Linked DNA regions of Homo sapiens: region 2 is linked to region 1. Evidence: promoter capture Hi-C in human tissues and cell types (Jung and others, 2019). All regions are on one chromosome and are shown on one strand. The core of a region is centred on a gene start or on the middle of the fragment in contact, and the rest is flanking DNA. Distances in the headings are between cores, read along the strand shown. Region 1 holds the start of ERVV-1 (endogenous retrovirus group V member 1, envelope). Region 2 overlaps ZNF677 (zinc finger protein 677).

The links. The method cuts DNA at HindIII sites, captures the fragments that hold promoters and counts their contacts. A contact is called where the count stands out against the background at its distance.
Region 2: a fragment that was not itself captured here is called in contact with the fragment with the promoter of ERVV-1 in region 1 in 3 of the 25 tissues and cell types used here (dorsolateral prefrontal cortex, heart right ventricle and mesenchymal stem cells).

The regions. Positions count from the first base shown.
Region 1 is chr19:53,010,252-53,018,200 of GRCh38, forward strand. It overlaps ERVV-1 (endogenous retrovirus group V member 1, envelope), which reads left to right and starts at 3,670. Exons shown (of 1, transcript NM_152473.3): 1 at 3,670-5,872. The coding sequence starts at 3,840. The coding sequence ends at 5,273. The region is part of intron 1 of LOC124904758 (a long non-coding RNA gene); the gene reads right to left. The HindIII fragment of the contact is 3,820 bases long and covers 859-4,678 here.
Region 2 is chr19:53,234,436-53,242,384 of GRCh38, forward strand. ZNF677 (zinc finger protein 677) reads right to left here. Exons shown (of 5, transcript NM_182609.4): 5 at 946-4,122. The coding sequence ends at 2,537. Among named protein-coding and RNA genes, the nearest start is that of ZNF677, 16 kb to the right of the region's middle. The HindIII fragment of the contact is 4,510 bases long and covers 2,809-7,318 here.

The sequences.
Region 1 (7,949 bases), core at 2,420-4,919:
GAGTCAAGTCAAGCCTGTCAATTATAATAAGTTAGCAACCATCGACCAAGGGCCACATGAGAATCCCACGGCCTTTCTCGAAAGGCTCCAGGAAACTCTTATCAAACATACCAACCTAGACCCGGGATCCCCAGAAGGACAACTAGTCCTAAAGGATCACTTCCTCACACAAGCTGCCCCAGACATTAGGAGAAAACTGCGAATGCTGGCTTTGGGAACTAGAGCCCCCATGTCAGAAATCCTCAAATTCGCTTCCTCAGTGTTTTATAACCGAGACCAGGATGAGAGGGACAGGGCCGAGAGGAAGGAAAAACAGAAAGAAGAGAGGCAGGCTCAATTACTAGCTGCTTTGCAAGTTCACCAGCCCCCTCCAGGTTGCCCTAAGGATACCTTCCCAGGGAACTGCTATCAGTGCGGGAAGCCGGGCCATTGGAAGGCAAACTGCCCCTACGGGCCAAGGGGGGAAAAGCCCTGCACGGCCTGTCCCCTCTGCCGTAAGCTCAGGTACTGGAAAGAGAACTGTCCCGAGAGCCAAAAGGGCCCCTGAGCCAATGATGGCTTTGAGCTGAGGGTGCCCTCTGCCTTGGCCAGCTCCCAGATGTGACATCATCATCAAAGGGATGGAGCCCAGGGCAACTCTGGATGTAGCAGGTAGGACAATACATTTTCTATTTGATTTGAGAGCAGCCTGCTCGGTGCTGACCCCCTTCTCTAGGCAACTTTCCTCTGTCAGGTAATCAGGGTAAATGGCATCTCTTCCTAAGATTTACACCTTCTTTATTGTTAAAAGACCAATTAATCTTTTCCCATGAGTTCCTGATACTGTCTGAATGTCCCATACGTCTTTAGGGCAGGGATATACTCTCCAAACTAGGGGCACGCTTCACATTTACCTGAACTTCCCTGAAAGGCTTTCTTTTTTTTTGGAAGACTCACCCATGACATTGCTGAATTATCTTGATCTGGAATCACAAATAACCCTGAGATATGGGCTTTGATACACTAGGAAGGGCAATAACTGCAGTCCCAGTCAAAATCCAGCTAAGAAAACCTTCCACTTCTTTCATAAGAAACAATACTCGCTATGGCCAGAGGCAACAGAAGGACTTGAGCCTATCATTAACCCATTCCTTAGACATGGCCTGTTAAAGTCTGTAACTCTCCCTGCAACACAGGAAATCTATTCTGCTGGTAGAAAACATTTAAAGGGTTCTCCACTACTGAACCCTGATTAAGTCTGGTTTTCTGATGGCGGCAGTTTCATCCAACATGGAGTGACACATGCAGTTATGCAATAGTGTCTCTATTTGACATTATAGAAGCCAAATCCCTTCCTCCAAGAACATTGGCACAGCTAGCAGAGCTCATTTCCTTAACTAGAGCCATAGAAATAGGGAAAAACCCAAAAGCTACAATTTATACAGATTCAAAATATGCCCTCTCAGGACTCCATGCTCATGTGGCCATCTGGAAGGAACAGGGATTTTTACCAGCAAAAGATACCCCTAAGGAATGTGGACCACAGATCCTGGCCCTGCTCTAAGCTGTACACCTATCACAGGAAATAGCTGTAGTCCATGGCCAGGGACACCAAAGGACCAGGGAGAAAATGCCCAGCAAAACAGGAGGGTGGATCAAACAGCCAGGACCACTACCCTGTAGGGAACTCCTCATGGCCCTTAACCCATCTTTACCCAACACCTTACCCACCCACAAAAACCCAAGAGGAAAAGGAATGGGCTATCAAATATGAATCTACCCGAGAACCTGAGGTGTGGTATACAGTGGGAGGAATTCTCCACTTTCCTAGGCCCTCCAGTAAAAACTTGTGAGAGCACTCCATGAGTCATGTCACTTTGGGAGACATCATCTCCAGCACATGTGCAAAAACCTCTTTTCCAGGAAAGGGCTCTACTAGACTATTTGTCAGGTCTTTAACACCTGTGCATCCTGTGCCTGTAATAGCCCCCAGGGCCCTACGCTGCCCTGCTTTTTTTTTTTTTTTTTTTTTTTTTTGAGTCAAAGTTTCACTCTTAGTACCCAGGCTGGAGTGCAACGGCGTGATCTCAGCTCATCGCAATCTCTCCCTCCCAAGTTCAAGCGATTCTCCTGCCTCAGCCTCCTGAGTAGCTGGGATTACAGGCAGGTGCCACCAAAAAAAGACCAAAAAAAATTTTTTTTTTTTTTTGGTATTTTTAGTAGAGATGGGGTTTCTCCATGCTGGTCAGACTGGTCTTGAACTCCCAACCTCAGGTAATCCGCCTGCCTCGGCCTCCCAAAGTGCTGGGATTACAGGCATGAGCCACCGTGCCCAGCCAAATTTTTTTTTTTGTTCAATGTTGCCCAGGTTGGCCTCAAACGCGTAGCCTTGCCTCCTTGTGACCCAGGACAACCGGCCAGAGCCAATGCAGCTCCCTGTCCTGCTTAGTTGAGCCAGTTCAGCATTGGGAAGCTTACCCAGGGAAAGACTGATGGATGTATTTCACTCAATTGCCAGCCTGTAGAGGCTATAAATGCCTTCTGGTGTTTGTGGACACCTTTATTGGGTGGGTTAAAGCCTTTCCTACAAGAACAGAAAAGGCCCAGGAAGTAGCCAAGGTACTTCTTAAAAAAAAAAAAAAAATCATCCCGGCCGGGCGTGGTGGCTCACTTCTGTAATCTCAGCACTTTGGGAGGCCGAGGCAGGCGGATCACGAGGTCAGAGAATTGAGACCATCCTGGCTAACACAGTGAAATCCTGTCTCTACTAAAAAAGAGAAAAAATTAGGTGGGTGTGGTAGCGGGCGCCTATAGTCCCAGCTACTCAGGAGGCTGAGGCAGAAGAATGGTGTGAACCCGGGAGGTGGAGCTTGTGGTGAGCTGAGATTGTGCCACTGCACTCCAGCCTGGACAACAGAGCGAGACTCCGTCTCAAAAACAAAAAGAAAAAAAAAATCACCCCTCAGTGTGGGTTTAGTTTGTGTTTACAAAGTGACAACGGCCCAGTTTTTATTTCACGCACCCTTTAATTAGTGACAAAAGCCCTAGAAATAAAGTACTCCTAGCACTCCTGGAGAACACATTCCTCTGGCAAGGTAGAAAGCACTAATCAAACTATTAAAAGGACCCTGAACAAAGTGTGCCAGGAAACCTCCTCACCATGGTTAGAACTCCTGTCCGTAGCACTGTTCTGAGCATGACCCCTAATATTACTTATGCCTTCCTACATGCAGACCTAATGTTAGATCCAGAAGTTACCCAATTAATCAAATACATAACATCACTGGCCCAATTTCAACAAGCCATCCAGGAGTTTGAGCAAAAGGTACTGCCTGCCACTGACCCCTCCAGTAATCAACCCTTATACTAGCCAGGGTCACAAGTCCTCATCAAAACCTGGAGAGATGGGTCACCCAGGTCTCAACTAGCCTGGGTCTCTCCTTTATGGAAAGGCCCCTTTATTACTTTCTACCCCGACAGCTATCAAAGTTTCTGGAATCTCTAGTTGGATACATCACTCCTGAGTAAAACTGTGAGAAGGTCCCGAAGAACCAACAACAGAATCAGCATCTGAGTAGTCTCATGAGCCAGCCACTGGAGAGCTTCCAATTCCTCTTCAAGTGAAAAGATAAGTAAAGCCTTCTCTCCTTTCACCTCAAAAAAAGGTCTCTCAGTACGGGGAATCTTGGTTGCGGTGGCATCGGTTCTTCTCCTTATTTTGACCCACACTGGCATGCCACCTGAAGTCCCGATAACAGCCTGATTTCTCACTAAACACTCCATCGAACCATTTCATTATTTGTCTCTCCTATTTTCAGCACTTTCCTTTTGCTTTCACAAAGCTTAAGGGAGAATCAGCTATGACAGAGAAATTCCTTTTCCTTTATCTTTCCCTCCTTCCCATGCCCCTACTCTCACAGGCACAGTGGAATGAAAATTCCCTTGTCAGTTTTTCCAAAATAATTGCTTCGGGAAACCATCTAAGCAACTGTTGGATCTGCCACAACTTCATCACCAGGTCCTCATCTTACCAATATATTTTGGTAAGAAATTTTTCTTTAAACCTAACATTTGGTTCAGGAATCCCTGAAGGCCAACATAAATCTGTTCCGCTCCAGGTTTCGCTTGCTAACTCAGCGCACCAAGTCCCCTGCCTGGATCTCACTCCACCTTTCAATCAAAGCTCTAAAACTTCTTTCTATTTCTACAACTGCTCTTCTCTAAACCAAACCTGTTGTCCATGCCCTGAAGGACACTGTGACAGGAAGAACACCTCTGAGGAGGGATTCCCCAGTCCCACCATCCATCCCATGAGCTTCTCCCCAGCAGGCTGCCACCCTAACTTGACTCACTGGTGTCCAGCTAAACAAATGAACGATTATCGAGACAAGTCACCCCAAAACCGCTGTGCAGCTTGGGAAGGAAAAGAGCTAATCACATGGAGGGTTCTATATTTGCTTCCCAAGGCACACACTGTCCCCACATGGCCAAAATCTACTGTTCCCCTGGGAGGGCCTCTATCCCCTGCATGCAATCAAACTATTCCAGCAGGGTGGAAATCGCAGTTACACAAGTGGTTCGACAGCCACATCCCCCGGTGGGCCTGTACCCCTCCTGGCTATGTATTTTTATGTGGGCCACAAAAAAATAAACTGCCCTTTGATGGAAGTCCTAAGATAACTTATTCAACCCCCCCTGTGGCAAACCTCTACACTTGCATTAATAACATCCAACATACGGGAGAATGTGCTGTGGGACTTTTGGGACCACGGGGGATAGGTGTGACCATTTATAACACCACCCAACCCAGACAGAAAAGAGCTCTGGGTCTAATACTGGCAGGGATGGGTGCGGCCATAGGAATGATCGCCCCATGGGGAGGGTTCACTTATCATGATGTCACCCTCAGAAATCTCTCCAGACAAATAGACAACATAGCTAAGAGTACCAGAGATAGCATCTCTAAACTCAAGGCCTCCATAGATTCTCTAGCAAATGTAGTCATGAACAACAGATTGGCCTTAGATTACCTCTTAGCAGAGCAGGGTGGAGTCTGTGCAGTGATCAGTAAATCCTGTTGCATTTATGTCAATAACAGTGGGGCGATAGAGGAGGATATAAAAAAGATCTATGATGAGGTTACGTGGCTCCATAACTTTGGAAAAGGTGATTCAGCAGGGTCCATTTGGGAGGCTGTGAAGTCTGCCCTCCCCTCCCTCACATGGTTTGTCCCTTTACTGGGACCAGCTGCACTTAATAGCCTGCTTTCTCCTCTTTGGCCCTTGTCTCTATAATTCACTAATTAAATATGTCTCTTCCAGGATATGGCAATTTCACACAGAGCCCCTAAAAATGGAAAGAGATCATCCAATCTTCCTTGGAGGTCCCAGCACCTACAAGTACATATCTCCCTTGGATGCCAGTGGGCAAAGATTCTGCAACTACGGAGGGGCTCCTTCCCTGACAGAGAGCAAGAGAGGGAGACCCTGATGACTTCTTCGTCCCACGTCAGCAGGAAGTAGTTACAGAAGACCCACGACGTCCTTATGCCCAAAGCTTTTCAGGGTCTCCAACTCTTGAGGGGGAATACTGTTAGGGTAGGCAGGTAGCCAGACAAGAGCAGGCAAGGAAGCCCCTGGGAAAGGAATCTTTAGAAATGCAGCCCGCTGATGGCCTCCTTGGAAACGCTGCACGCTGAGTCAGCAAAAGGAGGAGCGTGGCTACACTGGCTACACCTGGCCTTGTGGCTGCATTCCTCTGTTCCAGAAGGGAACTTATCAAGGCCCAGCCAGAGGTTACCAAGGTAGGAGCTATTCCCCACTAAGAAGCATGTATACTTCTCTAATAATTCACCCTAATATACCATTTTGTTCATTAAAATAATAAAAAAAACCACACACCTGTGTGGAGATTTTATTTTTTAACCAGAAATTCCTTGTTAGACTTTAGATCCAAATGACATGGCACATGTGTGCCCAGACCAGTTCCCAACACATGCTTACTAGTAACGCCCCTGCATGACCCCTTCATGAATAATCATGTAAAATTCTCATAAGAAGCATCTCCCCAGCCAGGTGTGGTGGCTCACGCCTGTAATCCCAACACTTTGGGAGGCTGAGGCAGGCAGATCACCTGAGGTCGGGAGCGCGAGACCAGCCTGACCAACATGGAGAAACCCCGTCTCTACTAAAAATACAAAATTAGCTGGGCGTGGTGGCGCATGCCTGTAATCCCAGCTACTTGGGAGGCTGAGGCAGGAGAATCGCTTGAACCCGGGAGGCAGAGGTTGTGTTGAGCCAAGATCGTGCCATTCCACTCCAGCCTGGGCAACGAGAGGGGAACTCCATCTCAAAAAACGAACAAACAAAAAGAAGCGTCTCCCCAGCATTGGTGAGACAGACTCATTCATTTGAGCAGCCCAGCCTGTTCTGTCTTTCAGGGTGTACTGTTTATTTAAAAGCCCCCATAAAAATTCCTCCCAGGCCAGGCATGGTGGCTCAGGCCTGTAATCCCTGCACTTCCTTGGGCGGATCCTCAGACAGATCACAGCTCAGGAGTTTGAGACCAGCCTGACAAACATGGCGAAACCCCGTCTCTACTAAAAATACAAAAAAATTAGCCGGGCCTGGTGGCACGCACCTGTAATCCCAGCTACTCAGGAGGCTGAGGGAGGAGAATCACTTGAAACCAGGAGGCGGAGGTTGCAGTGAGCCAAGATTGCGCCACTGCACTCCAGCCTGGGCTACAGGAGACTCCATCTGGGGAGGGCGGCGGGGAATTCCTCCTAAGTCACTAGCAGCTGACTCACTCTCTGCAGCAGCCAGTTCTGTCTCTTCTTGACCTCCTGTCTTTAAATAAAGGTTACTTAACGATTTAACTCTTTCTGTGTGCCTCCTAGATGAATTCTTTCCTTCAGGAAGATAAACTGAAGGACCTCCACACCCCTCCTGGTAACAAAGGTCTTTGTGCAATCCCTCCTGAAGAAGCAATGGAGGATTTAGTATATCTAAACTAGTAAATACAAACTGTACTCAATTATCCAAGAAATCATTGAAGAAACACTCTTTACTCCATTTTTTATATCTTGGGAAAAATATAATTAAAGACAAAATAATATTTGCCAAACCCAGAAATCCTCACCAAAAAGGAAAAAAATAAATAAACAATCCCAGTTGGTGGCTGGTGAATGCTTCTACCTTAATCAATACATGTTTTGAAGCTGTCAGCTTCTTTTTGCTCATAAGTGACTCCACAGAATCTAGTCTTTGCTTTGCCCTCTAGACAAGGAATACAGAATTTTTAAATCTTATCAGAAACATATAAATTGTTTGGTTTTGCACAATATTTACTAATTTTCTCCACTCATCCACTGTGGAGTCATAGCACAAAATGAGGCACCACCCTCTCGTATTGCAACTAAAACAGACTGAGCTTCTGCTCCATAACCATAAACAGTAATAGCAATACTAATTGAAAGATGAAGTAATTTTACGTAAGTAGGTATAAAACTGATAATTCATTGTTATTTTCAGTTTTACAATAAGTGGGAATTACATAGAATAAATCTTTCTCTCTCTCTCTTTCTATTTCTGACAGTCCCGCTCTGTCGCACAGGCCAAAGTGCCATGGGGTGACCTCAGCTTACTGCAACCTCCGCTTCCTGGGTTCAAGTAACTCTTGTGCCTCAGTCTCCTGAGTAGCTGGGATTGCAGGTGTACACCACCTTGCTTGGCTAATTTTTGTATTTTTCATAGAGATGAAATTTCACTATGTTGGCCAGAGTGGTCTCAAACTCCCAACCTCAGATGATCAGCCTGCCTTGGTCTCCCAAGGTGCTGGGATTACAGGCATGAGCCACCACACCCAACGGAGTTTTCACTCATTTACTTTAATCATCATGGGTTAGAGATATAGCTTTTAAAAATGTAATTGAATATACCCTTACAGTTAGGATCTAAAAAGAGCATTTC
Region 2 (7,949 bases), core at 3,814-6,313, 230 kb after region 1:
CATATTGCCTATGCTAGTCTCAAACTCCTGGGCTCAGGCAATCTCCTCGCCTGGGCCTCTCAAAGTGCTGACATTACAGATGTCAGCCTCCCTGCCCAGCCGGCTAGCTGAAAATTTAAACCACAGATGAGTATTCACTCCAGCCCCACCAGATAAACATCATAACACCCCAAGTCAATCATCTTTCACTGCCTTCTCTAGCCATTTTTTAACCAGCTTGGGAAGTCTACCCTGTTCTCTCCAGAAAGCCTTTTGTAATAAACATTCTTATAATACTTTGATGTAGAGTACCACCAATCCTGAAATCTAAACCAAACTTTGCACGGGGTTCCCTCCTGTTCCAGTGGAGTGGCGACAAGTGCAAATCAGTAAAAAAAAATGTTTTGGGGGTAAATACATGAGGTTTCTAGTTTCTTTAAAAAAAAAATCCATTGCTTATGTTCATTATTAAGGGGAAACTCATGAACACTGATTTTTTTCAAATTATTTCACGGAGTGCTCCAAGTACAAAAAAAGAAGTTGTGTTATTATTTCAGAAATTTCATTTACTAATAATTTTCATATGCTTACATTTGTTATTTTCCTCTCATGTAAAAGGCATGCAGAAATAAAGTTATGTAGAAAAAAAGGCATGTAGAAATATAACTGCACAGTGCATATTCATGAACAGGAAGACAGGTTTCAGGGGGTCTGATATTGTCCCACTATGGCATGGCATTTTCATTATAGCCATAGAAGTCATCTAGGGCAGAGTGTGGAGAAAATATTTCAAGTGCAAATTATGAATATATACTTCTTAAATTGTATACTGTTTGAACATAACATGGATAGAAATTGTTATAGATGACATTCAACCTTGAGAGTCTAATGATGTATTATAGTGTTTGATATTAAGTGTCCCAATGAGGTGGGATATGCTTGGGTTGACGGAAGGCACACGATTCATTCAGGGTTACTAAAAATGATTATATTTTACTAATTAAGACATAAGAAGTATAATATATTCTAAATAAAATGGTATCAAATGCAATCTCAGGGGCCAAATGTGAATCCCCTATAAGAACACTACTCTGGTTCTTTTGATGGAACTGTCCTCTATGGTAACCATTCTCTCTTCAGTTTCCAAAAATAAGACCTATCTATGTTCAATAATCTGTGATATGCAACAGTAACTACCTTTCAAGAGAGGGTGACTATCATTCCCCCTCCATTTCTTTCTACCACATATGCAGTCTCTAGTAACCGACCATTTCACTTCCATGAAAATCTCTCAATGTCCCACCCTACTCTTCTTGTTTCATGGTCATCTTGTACTGTAACCAATCTCTCCTATAATCGACAAAGGTCCCCAGTCACATCAACAATTCTAAGGGGTCCTGACCACATAAAGCATATATGTTAGACAATAGTTTTACCTCTCTTCTGGCACAAACCCCCATGCTCTTATAGTATATTGTATATTAGTGTTCTTGGCTGGGCACGGTGGCTCATGCCTGTAATCCCAGCACTTTGGGAGGCCAAGGCAGGTGGATCACCTGAGGTCAGGAGTTCAAGATCAGCCTGGCCAACATGGCGAAACTCTGTCTCTACTAAAAATACAAAAACAAAAAAACAAAAAACTAGCCAGGCATGATGGCGCATGCCTGTAATCCCAGCTACTCGTGAGGCTGAGGCAGGAGAATTGCTTGAACCCGGGAGACAGAGGTTGCAGTGAGCTGAGATGGTGCCACTGCACTCCAGCCTGGGTGACAGAGCAAGACTCTGTCTCCAAAAAAAGAAAAAATTAGTGTTCTTGCTTTTTCCAGGTTTCAGTAATATAAAGAAGCCACACCTAAGGAAGTAGTCCCTTCCATCTTACATCCATTCCTTGAGACAATCATGATAAATGAAAAGCATGCCATGAAGATTTAACAGCAACAGATTTCATACTTTTAAAAATATGAAATAACTGAATAAAAAATTTTTAACACTGAAGTTACATCTTTCCACAGATGTCCTTGCTCCTCTGACACACACCATGAGTTTGTGACTTTTTAAAATTGTCTGTGAATTTAACATCAATCACTTAATCTTCAAGAAGGAAAAAAGACTTAGTTCCCTCTAGCCTGAATTTTTGTATGACAAAATGCTTGCATATAAGGATGAATTTCCATTGAGAAATTTAAAATAATTTACCACCTTCACTTGTAATGCTTCTCTCCAATATGAATGGTGTATCCTGAAGTCAGAACATTGCTTAAAGGACTTGCCACATTTGTATGGTTTCCATCCTGAATGTCTTCTGTTATAACCATAATAGGGTAAATATTTTTATAAAGCTGTTCACATTCATTATATTTGTAAGGCTTCTCTACAGTAAGAATTCTATGATGTTCCACAAGGCTTGAACTTTGGATAAGCCTTGCCATACATGTTATCTTTGTGTGGTTTATCTCAAAGATGTATATTCTGGTATCAAGTGAGACATAAGCCATAGCTAAAGGCTTTACCACATTTTCGTTTTATATGGTTTCTTTTCACAATGGAGCCCCTGATGCTAGGTACAGCTTGAATACTTAATTTTTGTCTCATTATATTTGATATGTTTTTCTCTATTATAACTTTTTTGATGATCTCCAAGGTTTGAACTTTGGAATAAAGCATTACCATGTATATTATGTTTACAATGTTTCTTTTCAATGTGTATTTTCTGGTGTCTAGTGAGGTTTGCAAATTGGGTAAAAGCTTTGCCACATTCAGTACATTTGTAAGGTTTCTCTCCAGTATGGATTTTCTTATGCTGAGTAAGATTTGAACGTTCAGTAAAGGCTTTGCCACATTCAGTACATTTGTAAGGTTTCTCTCCAGTATGAGTTCTCTGATGACCCCAAAGGTGTGAACGTTTGATAAAAGCTTTATCACATTTATTACATTTGTAAGGTTTTTCTCCAGTGTGAATTCTCTGATGTTCCACAAGACTTGAACTTTGGATAAAAGCCCTGCCACACACATTACATTTGTGTGGTTTCTCTCCAGGATGTATATTCTGATGCCTAGTGAGATGTGAGCACTGCTTAAAAGCTTTGCCACACTCATTACATATGTAAGGCTTCTCTCCAGTATGGATTCTCTTATGTTGGGTAAGGCTTGAACGTTCAGCAAAGGCTTTGTCACATTCATTACATTTGTAAGGTTTCTCTCCAGTATGAATTCTTTCATGACCCCAAAGGTGTGAACGCTGGATAAATGCCTTACCACATTCATTACATTTGTAAGGTTTCTCTCCAGTATGCATCCTCTGATGACTTGCAAGATTTGAATTTTGACTACAGACCTTGCCACATATATTACATTGATATGGTTTCTCTCCTGTATGGACTCTCTGATGCCTAGTGAGGTTCGAACACTGGTTAAAGGCTTTGCCACACTCGTTACATTTGTAAGGTCTCTGTCCAGAGTGAATTCTCTGATGATTAGTGAGGTTCGAACTTTTGCTAAAAGCCTTTCCACAGTCATTACACTTGTATGATTTTTCTCTAATGTGTGTTCTCCCATACTGTGTATGTAATAAAGGGTATTTCAAAATCTTCCTATATTTATTACAAATGTTTTTGACACAAGGAGGAAGTGGTGAAACTGAGGAACTATTGATAGACTTCTCAACTGGATTACATTCATACATTTTCTCCCCAGTTTGAAATCTCTGTAGTTCAGCCAGCTGTGCCTGTAAGCTTAATCCAATTTTATTTTCAAAACACTTCACGTATTTGTTTCCGGCATACCTTATGTTATTTTTCAGTTTTAACAAATTCCTTATAAATGGCTTGTCATGGATGAAATACTGGTGTGCACTATCTCTTATAGAAACACTCTGCTTTAAAGAGAAATGTATTGAGGATTTATTATGTTGTTGATCTTTTCTGTGAGTGAGATTTTTGTTACAGGTCAAAGGCATTCCTTTGTAATTTTTTACATCATAGTCCCACAGGCTGTCAAACTTAGGCATATTTTCCCAGACTTCCTTGAGGTCAAAATTGTTGATGCCATGGCTTTCCTTTCTTTCTAATATCACCAGATGGTATAATTCCTCTTTATTATTTTCCTTTGGTGATAATCCCTTGCTTGTAAATCCAACAGAAATATCTGAAAGATATTAAAAAAACCACAGGCTTTCCATCAAATAGAGTTGCAAGGTAAATATTTTATTAAAATACATATTACAAGAAAGCTAAGATTTACAATGAACAGAGTTATGAAGCTTCTCAACTGTCTTTAAACGTTTAACAACACAAAGGGACTAGCTGTCCTCAATAAAGTAACACAGTAACAAAACATGTAACAAATTATTTTAAGCACAGTTTAAAACACCCTATAGCTAAAACACTCATACTATGTAAATCCACATAAACTCTGAAAGAAGAGGTATTTTTCCACCACCACTCCAAGGAACACGTAAATTGGCATAGCTATATGGTAGTCTCATATTTGAAGATAAACAAATAGTAATGCATTATTTAGTACATAATTATTACACACAAAAGGTAAGGCACAGCTCAAGCTTATCTAATAAAAAATATTTAAAAATGACAATTCATAATTGCAAACAAAACACTGAAAGAAAAAATTCGGAAGAATTTAATAAAATTTTGAATATTTACAAATTGCAAATGTGAGTACTTGTTATAAAACTACTTACACCCATGTAGAATGTGCATTTTGCAGCATTAACAATTTGTGCATGGTGGTTCTATTGCATAATATATACTGAAAAACCATCATCTGTAAATCATTACAAAAATAAATAAAACACTTTAGTAACCTGTGAAAATCTAACAGGCAAGTTAATGAACAACCACAATTACACAAAATTGTCAGTGAAATTCTAAAGAATTACTGCTTATGAACTACAGAAAAAACAGAAGGGACACACAATAGGAAAAATAATATGTTGAGAATCACTAAATTTTGAAATATCAGCTTCAGGTAAATGCACATTACTATAAAGATGAAGAATTAGGAGGGGAGTCTGAAATAATTTCATGCCTGCAGTTATATGACAGCAGTATATAGAGAAACTCCCTGACTAGGAAATGTCATCTAGTTTTCCAGTTCTATGGCCAAAAAATACATATAATGAAAGCTGTGTGCTTTAACATTTTATTATGTAGAGTCAGAGAAATGTTGATATGAAAAAAAAAATTACAAAAAAGAAAATATGTAAGATATAATGAAGGCAAAGGTCAATCTCATAAGAAACATGACAGACACTTGACATATCTTATTCATAAAGGTAACTTTTCAAAGCATACTAAATGCTATGCAAGTTACTAAGGTCTCTAACAGCACTAATTGATGTAAATCCTCTTGAGGTAAATTATCGCACCTTTTCATACCAAAACAAAGGGCTGAAGAGGTTTACATATCTATCCCTAACTCACAGAGAAAGCACATCTGAAAGCCAGAATCTGAACCTGTGTGTGCGGGCTAAGATGCCATGTTCACAGCATTAAGCACCACTGGCCACCCAGGGCAGCACGGATTATAAATCACAGCAAATACGAGGAGTGTAGGAAGAAATGTTTCAAGGCAGATTATGGGACCTGAGCTGTGTCACCTATAGTGTGACAGCACCACTGCTCTCAGATAGCATTTAAGTCACCTTATCTTGCACAAGTTGTTTAGACAGTGACCAGATCATGTTGCTGTCCTGAGTAAGCTGTCCTGTGTATAAGCAGGAGTCATTCTTTACACAGTGTGTGCAATGAAGGGATGTTATTCTGTGCTAAAAAGAAATGAGCTGTCAAGCTATAAAAAGACATGGAAGAAATTTATTTTATTTATCTATTTTTTGAGATGGAGTCTCGCTCTGTTGCCCAGGCTGGAGTGCAGTGGCATGGTCTCGGCTCATCACAACCTCTGCCTCCCAGGTTCACGCCATTCTCCTGCCTCAGCCTCCTGAGTAGCTGGAACTACAGGTGCCCGCCACCACGCCCGGCTTATTTTCTGTATTTTTAGTAGAGACGGGGTTTCACCATGTTAGCCAGGATCGTCTTGATCTCCTGACCTCGTGATCCGCCGGCCTCGGCCTCCCAAAGTGCTGGGATTACAGGCGTGAGCCACCACGCCCAGCCCTAGAAATTGAAATGCATATTATTAAGTGAAAGAAGCCAATCTGAAAAGGCCATATACTATATGGTTCCAACTATATGACATTCTGAAAAAGGCAAATCTATGGAGACAGTAAAGAGATCAGTGGTTGCCAGGTGCTGGGGGGAGGGAGAGATGAACAGACAGAGCACAGATTTTTTAGGGCAGTGTAATTATTCTGTAAGATACTATTATGGAGGATATATGTCTATTATATATTTGCCCAAACCCAAAGCATATACATAGAGTGAACCCCAACATCGACTATGGACTTTGGGTGATAATGATGTGTCAATGTAGGTTTATCAATTTTAACAAATGTACCACTGTGATGGGGGATGGTGATAATGGGGGAAGACGCTGTGCACGTGTGGGGGAACAGAGTATACAGGAAATCTAGTTTGCTGTGAACATAAAATTGCTAAAAAATAGAAAGTCTATTTTTAAAAAGTATAAGCTAAGAGTTGATATAAAGTTACAGGAAACAGAAGTAAAAGGAATAACTAATACTATCCTTTAACAAAGTTTTGGAGGTTATATATGTTTTGAGGAAACTAATACTCAGACATAAATACTCAAGGAAGAAATCTTCTGGTAAAACATATAAAACATCATGAAAGTATATGAAGCAGAAAAAAATATATATAATAAAACAATATTCATTCATCTCATGGCCCCACACACTGTAGATATAAAACAAAAAACACTAAGAGTATCATGAAAACATGTAACTGCTGATTAAATACATACAAGTTCATTTATACCAATGACATTGGCAAAATGAAAGTGTCAGTGGCTTAACCAAATTATACTGAACTTTAAAAATGTATGCCTAATTCAACTTTGTAAGCTCCCTCAATAAAGGCATAAAAATCATACTGAAGAAAAATGTACAACTGCACGTATGGGATGAATAATGTGGTATGAGCAACAGTTTGGTCAACATGTTCGCAGATATGAGGTTGAGAACTTGGAGAATGCTCTTCCCAGGAGAAACTCCTACACCTTGTACTGCTGGCTCCAAGAGGATGATCAGCATATATCTAACCAGCGTTGTCACACTGCCCTTGGGAGACACTGGAAACTCCACAGAAACCAGAAGGTCAGAAGCACTTATCCCTCCGGCTGTCCTGATTCTCTCTCAGCATACTGGGACATGCAGGCTACTCTACTCAGTGGCTTCAAGAGGCACCTCTATGTAGCAGAATGATACTGTGACAGATTAATTAATGTTCTCTTTCAAGAATGTTCTGTCACCAAGGAAACCTCTTCCATGGGAGAGTCCACCAAAAGTTGTCCATCGCCTATTGGTGGGTTATCACAGCAGAAAGAGAGGAAATTTCAGACTCTAGGAATGTGTACTTTTCTTTTTCTTTTTTTTTTTTTCGAGATGGAGTTTTGCTCTTGTTGCCCAGGCTGGAGTGCAATGGCGTGATCTCGGCTCACCACAACCTCTGCCTCTCGGGTTCAAGCAACTCTCCTGCCTCAGCCTCCCGAGCAGCTGGTATTACAGGCATGCGCCAACACACCCGGCTAATTTTTGTATTTTTAGTAGAGACGGGGTTTTTCCATGTTAGTCAGGCTGGTCTCGAACTCCCGACCTCAGGTGATCTGCCCACCTCGGCCTCCCAAAGTGCTGGGATTATAGGCGTGAGGCACCACGCCCATCCGGAATGTGTATTTCAAAAGCAACTTTCAGAGGCAAATCTTAGAAGAATATGGAATCAGGAAGACTAAGGTCTCCCTAAGTTCCCGGATAGAGTAGAAAGCTAGAAAAGGGAGAGAAATAAAAGGTACGGGAGTAAAATAAAAGGGTCGGATTT